Linked DNA regions of Homo sapiens: regions 2 and 3 are each linked to region 1. The links are contacts of gene promoters, found by promoter capture Hi-C in blood cells and fetal thymus (Javierre and others, 2016). All regions are on one chromosome and are shown on one strand. The core of a region is centred on a gene start or on the middle of the fragment in contact, and the rest is flanking DNA. Distances in the headings are between cores, read along the strand shown.

Region 1 (3,952 bases), core at 795-3,294:
ATTCTTCCCCAGTTCAGGCTTTATTTTGCAGCAAATAATGTTATTAACAAAGAAAATGTCCAAGATTGAGACAAATGTATATAAATGTATATAAAGCTCCACAGTTTTATCCTAAAAGCCTGGATGTCCATGAGATATTGAAGATGCTTAAAGATGTAAAACTTGTCTCAAATTTGAAGGAAAAGAAATAAAGGGAATTCAAATTTTTACAAAATGCAAATAAAACACTTGAAAAATTCCTTCTTCCCTTGGCTTCATTTAATGACCCTGCACAGGCTCCTAGGTTTCCTGCTCTCTGACCTGTGCACTGATGTCCAGATGCCCCTCCCTTAAAGGTGGATGTAACTCCGCATTCTATCCTATTCTTTTTTTTCAATCTATACATTTCCCTTCTGAGATGTGACCTACTTCTGTGGCTTCAATGACCATGCATTAGAAAGACATCTCAAATGCAGGCCGGGTGCAGTGGCTCACTCCTGTAATCCCAGCACTTTGGAAGGCCGAGGAGGGAGGATCGCTTGAGGTCAGGAGTTTGAGACCAGCCTGACCAACATGGCGAAACCCTGTCTCTACTAAAAATACAAAAATTAGCCAGGTGTGGTGGCGCATGCCTGTAATCCCAGGTACTCGTGAGGCTGAAGTGGGGCGATTCTTCTACTTCCCAGGTACTCGTGAGGCTGATGTAGAAGAATCGCTTGAATAAGGGGGGCGGAAGTTGCAGTGAGCCGAGATTTTGCAACAAAATCTGTTGCAGTGAGCGACAGAGTAAGACTGTCTCAAAACAACAAAAACAAACAAAAAACACCTCAAACGCAACAAATCGAAATAACCCCTCTACCTTTGCTTCACAATCTGATCCTCCTTCAATGTTCTGTTTCAAGGGATATTGCTATCCATTGGTATTGTTCCCAACATATATTTCTAAGCTTATTGCGGCCAGGTCAGCAGCATCTCTAGCTATTCTTCACCTCACACTTCAAGTATTCCACCATTACTTTTCACAGCACTCTGGTGCCTATGACAGTACTTCTAACACTGCACTGTAATTGCCTGGTTATCTATTTGCCTCACTAGATGGTAAGGACTAACTAGTGTCCATGAGGACAAGGACTTTGTCTATAATGTTAACATTGAATCCAATGCTTGACAGTATTTGGCTCACAGTAATCACGCAAATATTTTTCTAATACCCTAGATCGATGCTTCCTTCATTAAAAAAAAAAAAAAGAAAAAAAAAGTTCAGCCTCCCTTTATTATTTTTTTTGAGACGGAGTCTCGCTCTGTCACTCCAGGCTGGAGTATAGTGGCGCGATCTCGGCGCAAGCTCCGCCTCCCAGGGTTCACGCCATTCTCCTGCCTCAGCCTCCCGAGTAGCTGGGACTACAGGCACCCGCCACCACGCCCGGCTATTTTGTATTTTTAGTACAGACGGGGTTTCACTGTGTTAGCCAGGATGGTCTCGGATCTCCTGACCTCGTGATCCGCCCACCTCGGCCTCTCATTGTGCTGGGATTACAGGCGTGAGCCACCGCGCCCGGCTCAGCCTCCCTTTAAAGAGAAAACAATTTACTTTAGAATCCCGGAAATATTTAACTGGGGTCCCCAGGCCCCAATCTAATAAACATTGATTTCAGAAGGAGTTTTAAAAGTTTTATTCTTGTAACTGGCAAGGACTTAGAATACCACAGAAATGAAAACCCCAATTGTAAAAAGCAATCAAGTACATCATTTCAGGAACCACTGATTTTGTTTCAGGTACTGTACTAGTTATAGTTTATTAAAATCACTGGGCTTCCTCTTACCCGTGGGCCTTCCGAACGCACATGCTCCACTAAGTGCATCTTGGAACGTCTCCGGCGTCCTCCCACCCCCAACACACACATTAGGCGAAAGAAGAAACTCGCTTACCAGGAGTGCAGAGATAGTGGTTCCCGCTGGCGCAAAGAACAGGGACCCTGGAGGACGAAGGACTCCGACGTACGGACGCCCAGGGATCCGCGCCGAAGCTAGCACGCAGCCTACCCAACAGTCTACACAGCCGACCAGAGCGGTCGCTGGGGCTCAGCCGGAAGTTCCGCCCTCTCCCTTCCGGCGCTGCTTTTTACGTCACAGCACGCAAAGAACGCTTTCTTGGCTAAAAGAAGCGCCTTAGAGGAGACGGCTGTCAGTAGGCAACTGGGTACTCGAAGACTACGCTCTCAGTTGTCACGGAGTTGTAGCTGTGTTGTGTTGTGTTTTCCTCCATATATCCTAAAAACTTCTTCTGGGCCGGGCCAGTTGGCTTACGCCTGTTATCCCAGTGCTTTGGGCGGCCGAGGCGGGCGGATCACTTGGGGTCAGGAGTTTGAGACCAGCCTGGCCAACATAGTGAAACCCCGTCTCTACTAAAAATACAAAAATTAGCCAGGTGTGGTGGCGCGCGCCTGTAATCCCAGTTGCTCGGGAGGCTGAGGCAGGAGAATCGCTTGAACCTGGGAGGCGGAGGTTGCGGTGAGCTGAGATCGCGCCACTGCACTCCAGCCTGGGCGACAGAGCAAGACTCTCTGTCTCAAAAAAAAAAAAAAAAAAAAAAAAAAACTGTTTCTAATCCTCTTTTCAACCTACTCTCTGTTTGGGCCCTGTATTTATAAACATTTGCTGACAGAGTACTAAAATAAAGTATGTTTTTTTCACACGTCTTCTTACTCAGCTTCAAACTCCTTGACGCTAGGACTTTAAACTCCTAATCTTTTTGACCAGTTTATCACCAGTACCTGGCACTATGCTTGGAACGTGATAAGCCACGGTAAGTTTCTGTCTCCTCCTAGCTCATTTGGAAAGTTTAATGTGAAATGAAATTAAAACACATTTGTAAATTGGTGGCCTTTGGGGCCAATTCAGCCTCCACATATATTTGTAACCAAACACAGAATGAACATATTCTGCAGCCATTCTACTCCTAGTAATATACCCAAAGAAATTGAAAGCAGAGACACAAACAGACACTTGTACTCTAATGTCATTGTAGCATTATTGATAATAACCAAAAGGTGGAAGCAACCCAAATATCCATGAACAGATGAATAGATTAAAAAATGTTGCATGTACATACAATGGAATATTATTCAGTCTTAAAAAGGAATGAAGTTCTGATACATGGTACAACATGGATAAACTTTGGAGGCATTATACACTGAGATAAGCCAGGCACAAAAGGACAAATATTGTATAAGTCCACCTATATGAAGTGCCTAGAATAGTCAAATCATAAAGAAAGAAAGTAGAATAGTGTTTACCAGGGGCTGGGGAAAGGGAAGAATGGGCAGTTACTGTTTAATAGGTATGAATTTTCAGTATGGGATGATGAAAAAGTTCTGGAGATGGATAGTAGTGATGGTTGTACAAGAACGTGAATGTACTTAATGCCATTGAACTGTACACTTGAAAATGACTAAAATGGAAATGTTTATATTGTATATAGTTTACTAAAATAAAAGAAGGTAGGCATAGTCTTTTCCAAATGATTTTAAAAAACGAGATCTTGTCTAAGAGACTGATTACTATCATGTTAGAAAGGTGAGGTGGTGATAGCAAAATAATCATGAGTTTACTCCCAAACATGGAAAAAAATCAAGAATAAATATCGTCTAGTAGTTATAACAAATAGCAGTGTAGAGGTTATTTTTTCTTGTTCCTGTTCTTTAAAGAGATACATCTGAAGTTTTTCCATTAATATTTTATGAAGGTTTTTGCTATATGATCTTTGTCAAGTAAAGGAAATTTCATTCTGTTAAGTTTACTAAGATTCTTTATGTGAAAAATCTTTGGAAGTGTTTCTATAAATATAGCAGAACATAATTTATTCAATATGTCTGGGATCTGACCTATTCTAGATTAAGAATATTTCCAGGTTTCAGACATCTTACCTCCAACAAAAAGCACAGTGATTTTCAAAATACGTTTTTTTGTTTTT
Region 2 (3,952 bases), core at 441-2,940, 910 kb after region 1:
ATGTCCTGAACCACATTTTGAATGTAAATCATTCCGAAGGACTATCCCTTTATTGGAAGATATAATTTCTGGGTGTACAACCAAGTGCTCTTTAAAATTGCCTTTTTTTCCCTTCTCATGCTTACCTAATGTCTTTGCTCTAAAAGAGCAGCTGTTTCTCTTATTTTGTCTGCAGGCCGGCCTTGTTTACCAGCAATTTTCAGAAGGCAGTATGAGTGAATGTGTATGAGTGTGTGTGTGTGTATGTGTGTATATGGTGTGGTGTGTGTGTATGTATGGTGTGGTGTGTGTAGTTCATGTATATATTCTGTGCTAGCCCACATGTATATCTTCAGATTGGCAGAGAATGCAAGATTTCTCTTAATAAAGTTGATTTCAGAAGTAAAATGTGATATTCTTTTTTGTACATGTATTATTTTCCTTATTGCTTAAAGGCAGATATATCCTTATATCCCCTTAAAGGCATGTTACACTTTCATGTACACTATGGCAGACAGTTCCTCGCCAATAAAAGTTATAAAATCTCTACTCACTACCATCTAAAGCCTTCTGGATTTTTCAGACTGCAAGACCTCTTGGAATACCATTTCCCAGGTTTATTACTATGCCTAAAGTTCTAACCTTCAAATGCCTCTCTATTCTTAATAACTCATAATTTGATGAAGTCTATTTGCCCATTATGTATTCTTTATGTTTTTACGATGTTTCATCATGACCTCGCTTGATCTTTGGATTCCCACACTGAACAAAAAAGCTTTCATTCAAACAGAACTCAGTCCATCTGCTTGACATTTTAGTTGAGATTTCTGGACAATTCAAAATTTCATTAAATCTATTGAGAGGTTTAATGACCAGAACTGCAAAAAGTACTCAGAAGAATCTTTTTATATAAAAGTAAGATTAGAGTCTAGTTTTTATCTAATTTTATCAATTATAATCCACAGGAAGAAGAGGTGATTTTCAAATAGCCTGGCCCTTCTTATAGATTATTACTATATAGATGCTCCTCAACTTACAATGAGATTGCATCACAACAAACCCATCGAAAACTAAAAATATCATTTCACCTTACCATATTTTCAATTTACAATGGGTTTATTGGGACATAACCCTATCATAAATCAAGAAACATCCTGAATGCTATCACTTTTGCAACATCTTAAAGCTGAAAAATCGTAAGTTGAACCATGGTCAGTAGGGGACTGTTTGTATTCTGTGCATTATTATTATATGGGAACCTGTCCAAGAACAAAGAAAATTTTATAATTCAGGATTTTAAAATCAATAAAATTTTGTCTTTATTTTTGTTTTGTTTTTTCTCTCTTTAAAAAAAAAAATTTGTTTGAGATGTGATCTTGCTGTATTGCCCAGGCTTGTCTCAAACTCCTGGGCTCAAGCAATCCTCCTGCCTTGGCCTCCCAAAGTGCTGGAATTATAGGTGTGAGCCTCCATGCCTGGTGTTTATTTTTATTTTTGTTTCCTGATGAATTTTAGTGGTATCTTTGGTTGCATAATTGTGCTAGAAAACATATTGATGAAAGAGGAAAAAAATCTGATGACAAATGAAAAGAGTGAGGTTTTGGCAAAGAAACTAGTTATGCAGCAACTATGACTCATCCCTATGGGACCAAATAATTGTCAGTACAACTGTGGTGATGGTAGAAATACAAATAATGAGACAAATTTAAGAGGCATTTAATTTTACATGACAAACATGTAATTTTCCTTCAAGGCACTTACCACAATTTGTAATATTCAGTTGTGTAGATATTTTTATAATGTCTGCCTTTTCCCCCCAACAGTGTATATTTCATGAGAGATGGGAGATTATCTGTCTGTTCATAGTTTTGTATTCAGCTCCTTACAACATAAGCACTCACTATAAAACTTTTAAATGAATGGCAAGAGACTCATTTAATGTGAAAAGGGGAAGAAAAGGAATCGAAAACAATTCTGGCTCTTTGGAGAAATGGCTGGTTCAGGTATGAGGCAGAGAAAGTGAAAGATGATCATTTTGCTTTTGATTGAAATAAGGAAGTGACTAAAGACTGAGACGTGGCAAAACAACATGAAGGGGCTCCCTCTGGCTACACTGGGAAGTATGCTTTTTACAAAAGAGTATAGCAAACAAATATAGAAAGAGTGATAGCCTAGAAAAATCACCATTTTTCAACCACTTAATGTAATAATTTGTTCCAGTAAGGATGAGTAACAAGATCATTAAGTAAAAGATTTTTGGGAAACAGGATATCATGCAGCCTCAAAGTGGCACCCCACGAGTCATCTATTATTTACACAGGGAAAAAATGTGGAAATCTGGCAGACATCACTTTAAACGAGGAATCAAACTTACAGCCAACAATAATGGGACATACTGATACGCACTTCTTGTTGTGTCACACTAAAAAAAATTCCATGATTGCAGTATTCCCACCAAAAATAATTAACCTGCATCTCTTCATGAGGAAAATTTCAGACAAATCTTCATTGTGGAACATTTTTCAAAGTAACTGGCCTGGATGCTTGAAAAATTTCAATGTCATGAAAGACCAAACAAACATGAAATGTGAAGTTGACAGAGGAAACACACAGTAAACGGAGTAAATTAATAAATGAACAAGCTTCTAAAAGACCGCAGGCAGTTAAAAAAATGTAGCATGTGACAAAAAATAATGAATGGGATACAAAATTGGACCTCAAATGAAGGGGTCAAGGTGGAGAGAAGTATTTGTTTATAGGTCATTATTTAAAATTAGAATTTAATGTATGGGATTCAAAAACTTTCACCATTTGAAAACTATATTTTTGAAAAACGTTTCACCATTTGAAAGCTTGATATATTTTTTAAATTACTTTTTTAAAAAATTGCTGTTTGCAATGTCTCTTTCCTTAACAAATACAAATTGCTAGGCATGGTTCTATTCAACACTGAGGAATTATAGCATTAATGAGCTGCAGGACCACATAAATTTTACATGACAAACTTGTAAATAAGTGGCATATAATTTTCTTTCAAGGCACTTGCCACAATTTGTAATTACGTATTTATTTGTGTGTATTTCTTAGCCTTTCCAGGCCTAAATGTCCTCCTCTGTAAAATAAGTACCTCTCTGAGTTCTTGCCTAGTTCAAAGACACTACTCATGAGAATTCTCAGAGTAAATTATATCAAGATAGCAATTTCTCTTCTGAAAAGAGCCTGCTTCTGCTCTTACCTGGTGACAATCTGAAATATAACTGTGAGAGCCAGACCAGTAACAGACAGTGCACATCCAACGTTGGATAATATGTCAAGTGATTTGGGATATTGATAATCCTTTTTGAAAGTCTGAAAAACAAGGTAAGACTCATATTTTTAATTAGTCATCCCTGAAGTGTTAATGAAAGTCAACATCACAGAGTTACATGGGTCAAAATAACCAGACAGTTGCCAGATATATCTTCCTTTTGTAAAGCTCATGATATATTTAAAAGCGAAATACATTAACCCCTTATTGCTGAGCAGTTTACCTGAAGTATACAGGCTTGAGAATAATTATCTAACTAATTCAGTTAAGGAAAAATATACAGTCATGTCTTGGTATTTGCAGGGGGACTGGTTTCAGAACAACTTGCAGATGCCAAAAGCCATGGATACTCAAGTCCTGCAGTTGGTCCTGTGCAACCTGCTGATGTGGAAAGCTGACCTGCATATACCAGTTTTGCACTCTGAAAATACTGTTATTTTCCATCTACGTTTCCTCATGGATGCAGAACCTGCCAATGTGGAGGGCAGACTTTTTTATTGAAAACAATCCACATATTAAGTGGACCCATACTGTCCCATGTGGTTCACAAGTCAACTATTTATACTTTTCCTTGATGTCTAAAATCAAAATTGTTTGAATTAGATCTAAATTGTCAAAAGTTGCCTCACTTATTCATGACATTATTTTTATGTGTAACTGGACTCT
Region 3 (3,952 bases), core at 954-3,453, 850 kb after region 1:
AGCCTAAACGACAAAGCAAGACTTTGTCTCAAAAAAAAAAAAAAAAAAAAAAAAAACCATGAAATACAAAGTTGTAACTAAATGTGGAAGACAAACTACAACGAGGACACCTCAAGCTAAGGGTCCATGAACTGTGACCAACGGACAAAATCCCTGTGTTGTTATAGGTCTGTGAATGAAAAATGGTTTTTACATTGTAAAAAAAAGATGAGACAGAGGCCTTATGTGACCCACAAAGCTACAATATTTATTCTCTCTGATCTATTAAAGAAAATGTTTGCTGACCTTTGCCCTAAACAGTAGTTAAGAGAAAGCCAGTCAATGAGGTCAGTTTGAGATAAAGGCAAAGCATCTTCAAGTGGGAAAAAAGGCAGTTAAAGGCCAGGCACACTGGCTCATGCCTGTAATCTCAGTACTTTGGCAGGCCAAGGCAGGAGGATCGCTTGAGCCCAGGAGTTCAGGACCAGCCTGGGCAACACAGTGAGACCCCCATTTTGATAAACATTAAGAATAAGAAGCTGAGTGCAGTGGCACATGCCTGCAGTCCCAGCTACACGGGAGGCTGAGTTGCAAGGACTGCTTGAGCCCAGGAGTTCAAGGCTTCAATGAGCCATGATCACACCACTGCGCTCCAGCTTGGGAGACAGAGCAAGACCCTGTCTCAAGACAAAAAAATAAAAAATAAAAAAAAGACAGTTAAGCAAGTACTAGCCAGAGCAATTATGCAAGAGAAAAAAATAAAAGGTATCCAAATTGGGAAGGAAGCAAACTGTCCCTGTTTGCAGATGACATAATCTTATATAAACAAAAACCTAAAAACTCTACCAAAACCCTTAGAACCAATAAATGAATTCAATAAAGCTGCCAGAAACAAAATAAGTACACAAAAATAAGTAGTGTTTCTATACACATACAATAAAAAATAAAAAATGCAATCCCATTAACCACAGCTACAAAAATTTTTTTAAATATCTAGGAAGCAGTTTAACCAAGAAGATGAAAAACCTCTACAAAAAAAAAAAAAAACACTGATGAAAGAAACCAAAGAGCATACATATGTAATGACATCCCATGCTTATATAAGAACAAATATTGTTAAAATGACAAAATTACTCAAAGCAATTTACAGATTCAATTCAATCCCTATCAAACTACCAATAAAATTATTCATAAAAATTTAAAAACAAACCATAAAATTTGTACAGAACTACATACAACCCCAGACAGTCAAAGCAATACTGAGCAAAGAACAAAGCTGAAGGTGTCACACTTACTGACCTCAAAATATACTACAAAGCTGTAATAAGCATGGACTGGCACAAAAACGGACCCACAGACCAACAGAACTGACATAAAAACAGACCCATTGACCAAGAGAACAAACACATAGATCAATAGAACACATAGAACAAAAGAACATAATCCATGTTATCTATAGCCAACTGACTTTTGACAAGACCACTCATTAGGAAAAGGATAACCTCTTTAATAGGTCGGGAAAAGATTTCATGAATAAGACCTCAAAAGTGCAGTCAATAAAAGCAAAAATAAATATGATTATCTCAAACTGGAAAACTTTTCTGCACAGCAAAGGAAACAATCAAGAGTGAAAAGAGAACTTACAGAATGGGAGGAAATACAACTACTCATCTGGCAGAGGATGAATATTCAGAATATAGAAGGAACTCAAACATCTCAACAGCTAAAAAACAATCAATCCGATTTTAAAATCGGCAAATGATCTGAACAGACATTTCTCAAAAAAAGACATAGAAATGGTCAATAAATATATGAAAAAATGCTCAAAATCACAAATCATCAGGGAAATGCACACATATCAGGAAAATGAAGACCACAACAAGGTTCACCCCAGTTAGGATGGTTATTATCAAAAAGATAAATAACAAATGCTGGCAAGAATGAAGAGAAAAGGGAACTCTTACACATTATTGGTAGGAATGTCAACAGTACAGCCACTAGGGAGAACAGTATGAAGGTTCCTCAAAAAACTATAAATCGAACTAACACACAATTCAGCGATGCCACTACTGAATATTTAACTAAAGGAAAGGAAACCAGTATATTGAAGAGAAATCTGCACTCACATTTTACTGCAGCACTATTCACAATAGTCAAGATATGGAATCAACCTAAGTGTCTAACAACAGATTAACTGATAAAGAAAATATGGTATATATACACAATGGAATACAATTCAGCCATAAAAAAGAATGAAGTCCTGTCATTCACAGCAACATGGATGGAACTGGAAGACATTAAGTTAAAAAGATACCACATGCTCTCTCTCATATGTGGAAGCTAAAAAAAGTTGATCTTATACAAGTAAAAAGCAGAACAGATGACAGTAGAGGCTGCAAAGGGTAGGGGAAAAGAGGGATAGGGAGAGATTTATTAAAAGACACAAAAGTACAACTAGATAGAAGTAGTTCCAGTGTTCTATAGCACTATAGGATGACTACAGTTAACAATAACATATTATATAATTTCAAATAGCTAGAAGGAGAATATTGAATGTTTCTAACCCAAAGAAATAAATATTTGAGGTGATGGATATGCGAATTACCCTGATCTAATCCCATTATATGTAATGAAACATTACTATGTACCCCATAAATATGTACAATTATTATTTGTCAATTAAAACAAAATTTAAAAAAAAAAGTACTCTTGGGACTTTGCTAAAAAAAAAAAAAAGTTAAAAATCTGAATTGTAGGCTGGGCATGGTGGCTTATGCCTTTGGGAGGCCGGGTTGGCAGTATTGCCTGGGGACAGGAGTTAAAGGTTATGATGAGCTATAATCATGCCACTGCACTGTAGCCTGGATGAGAGTGAGACCCTGTCTCAAAAAAAAAAAAAATTCACTGATCAAATTAAGACACACATTTCAAAGTCACAGAGGTGCAAATCAATGTATGATAAGCATAAGAAAACAGGAAAAAAGTACTATCCTTTATTGTTTCTTAACATGGGCAACTCTCAAAAATTTGTTTTGGGTATTCTTAGACTACACATCACAAAAACAAAGGAGAATTATACCTTTAGCTAGATGGTCAATTTAACTGATCACCAGTGATTTACACTTCTCCTCCACAGTATAAGTTGTGCTAAGTGGCTGCTCAGCCAGGGACTATACTTCCCAACCCATTTGCATCTTAGCAAAGCCATGTAACTGGGTACTGACCAATGTCATAAGGGCAGAAATGACATACAACACCATCAGGCCTAGTGAGTAAAATCTCCCATATGATTCTTCATACTCTGTCTTCACTCATCTGCTTGCCAATGTCAATGCCTATGGTGAGCTTATAAGCCATGTGTTGAAGGTAACAGCTTCTTTCAACCTGGATCCCTGAAAGATTTCTCAACTATTAAACCACTCAGATTTTAAGATTTCTATTATATCTGCTGGCATTACTTTAAGCCCAACCCTAACACAGACAGAGAAAAAACTGTTAGTGATAAGAAAACTAGGTTAAGCAGTGTCAGAGATGTTAAGAGGTAAAAGTATTTAAAAACAAGGATGGTGTGGGTAGCAGTGCTAAACAGTGAGGTCAAGATTAAATACACTGCAAGTAAGTTCCACAGTAAAAAACACTGGTAACCACCTAAAGAGAAAATTTCAGCAGAGATATTAACAAAGAAGGCAGGTTGAAGAATAGGAAATACAGTCTACTACTATAATTCTACTCAGTGTGTTTGCCGAAACATTTTTCATTCAAAACCTATTTCCATAAAGATAATTTTGTCAACAAATGAGTCTGGGAACACTGCATACTACTAACTTCTGAAAATGTATATAAGCATATTACATAATCTGAAAACTCCTACAATAAAGAAACACTTTTGTCTTTGTTTAAACCAGCTTTCCCTTACTTAGTTGACCATAAAATCCTTTTTCATTCAATACATACTAAAACCTTTCATTTCGGG

The links. Contacts are between HindIII fragments. The CHiCAGO score rates a contact against its expected background, and 5 or more counts as called.
Region 2: a contact is called between a fragment that was not itself captured here and the fragment with the promoter of TRMT10C in region 1, in 1 of 17 cell types (total B cells). The highest score is 6.4, in total B cells.
Region 3: a contact is called between a fragment that was not itself captured here and the fragment with the promoter of TRMT10C in region 1, in 3 of 17 cell types (neutrophils, monocytes and total CD4 T cells). The highest score is 7.4, in neutrophils.

Annotation. Positions count from the first base shown.
Region 1 is chr3:101,559,960-101,563,911 of GRCh38, reverse strand. TRMT10C (tRNA methyltransferase 10C, mitochondrial RNase P subunit) reads right to left here and starts at 2,044. Exons shown (of 2, transcript NM_017819.4): 1 at 1,909-2,044. RefSeq lists enhancers at 1,909-1,978, 1,989-2,058. The HindIII fragment of the contact is 12,384 bases long and covers 929-3,952 here.
Region 2 is chr3:100,649,070-100,653,021 of GRCh38, reverse strand. ADGRG7 (adhesion G protein-coupled receptor G7) reads right to left here. Exons shown (of 16, transcript NM_032787.3): 11 at 3,215-3,327. Among named protein-coding and RNA genes, the nearest start is that of ADGRG7, 41 kb to the right of the region's middle. RefSeq lists an enhancer at 1,987-2,036. The HindIII fragment of the contact is 1,867 bases long and covers 757-2,623 here.
Region 3 is chr3:100,714,654-100,718,605 of GRCh38, reverse strand. The region is part of intron 2 of TFG (trafficking from ER to golgi regulator); the gene reads right to left. Among named protein-coding and RNA genes, the nearest start is that of TFG, 7.1 kb to the right of the region's middle. The HindIII fragment of the contact is 5,880 bases long and covers 1-3,952 here.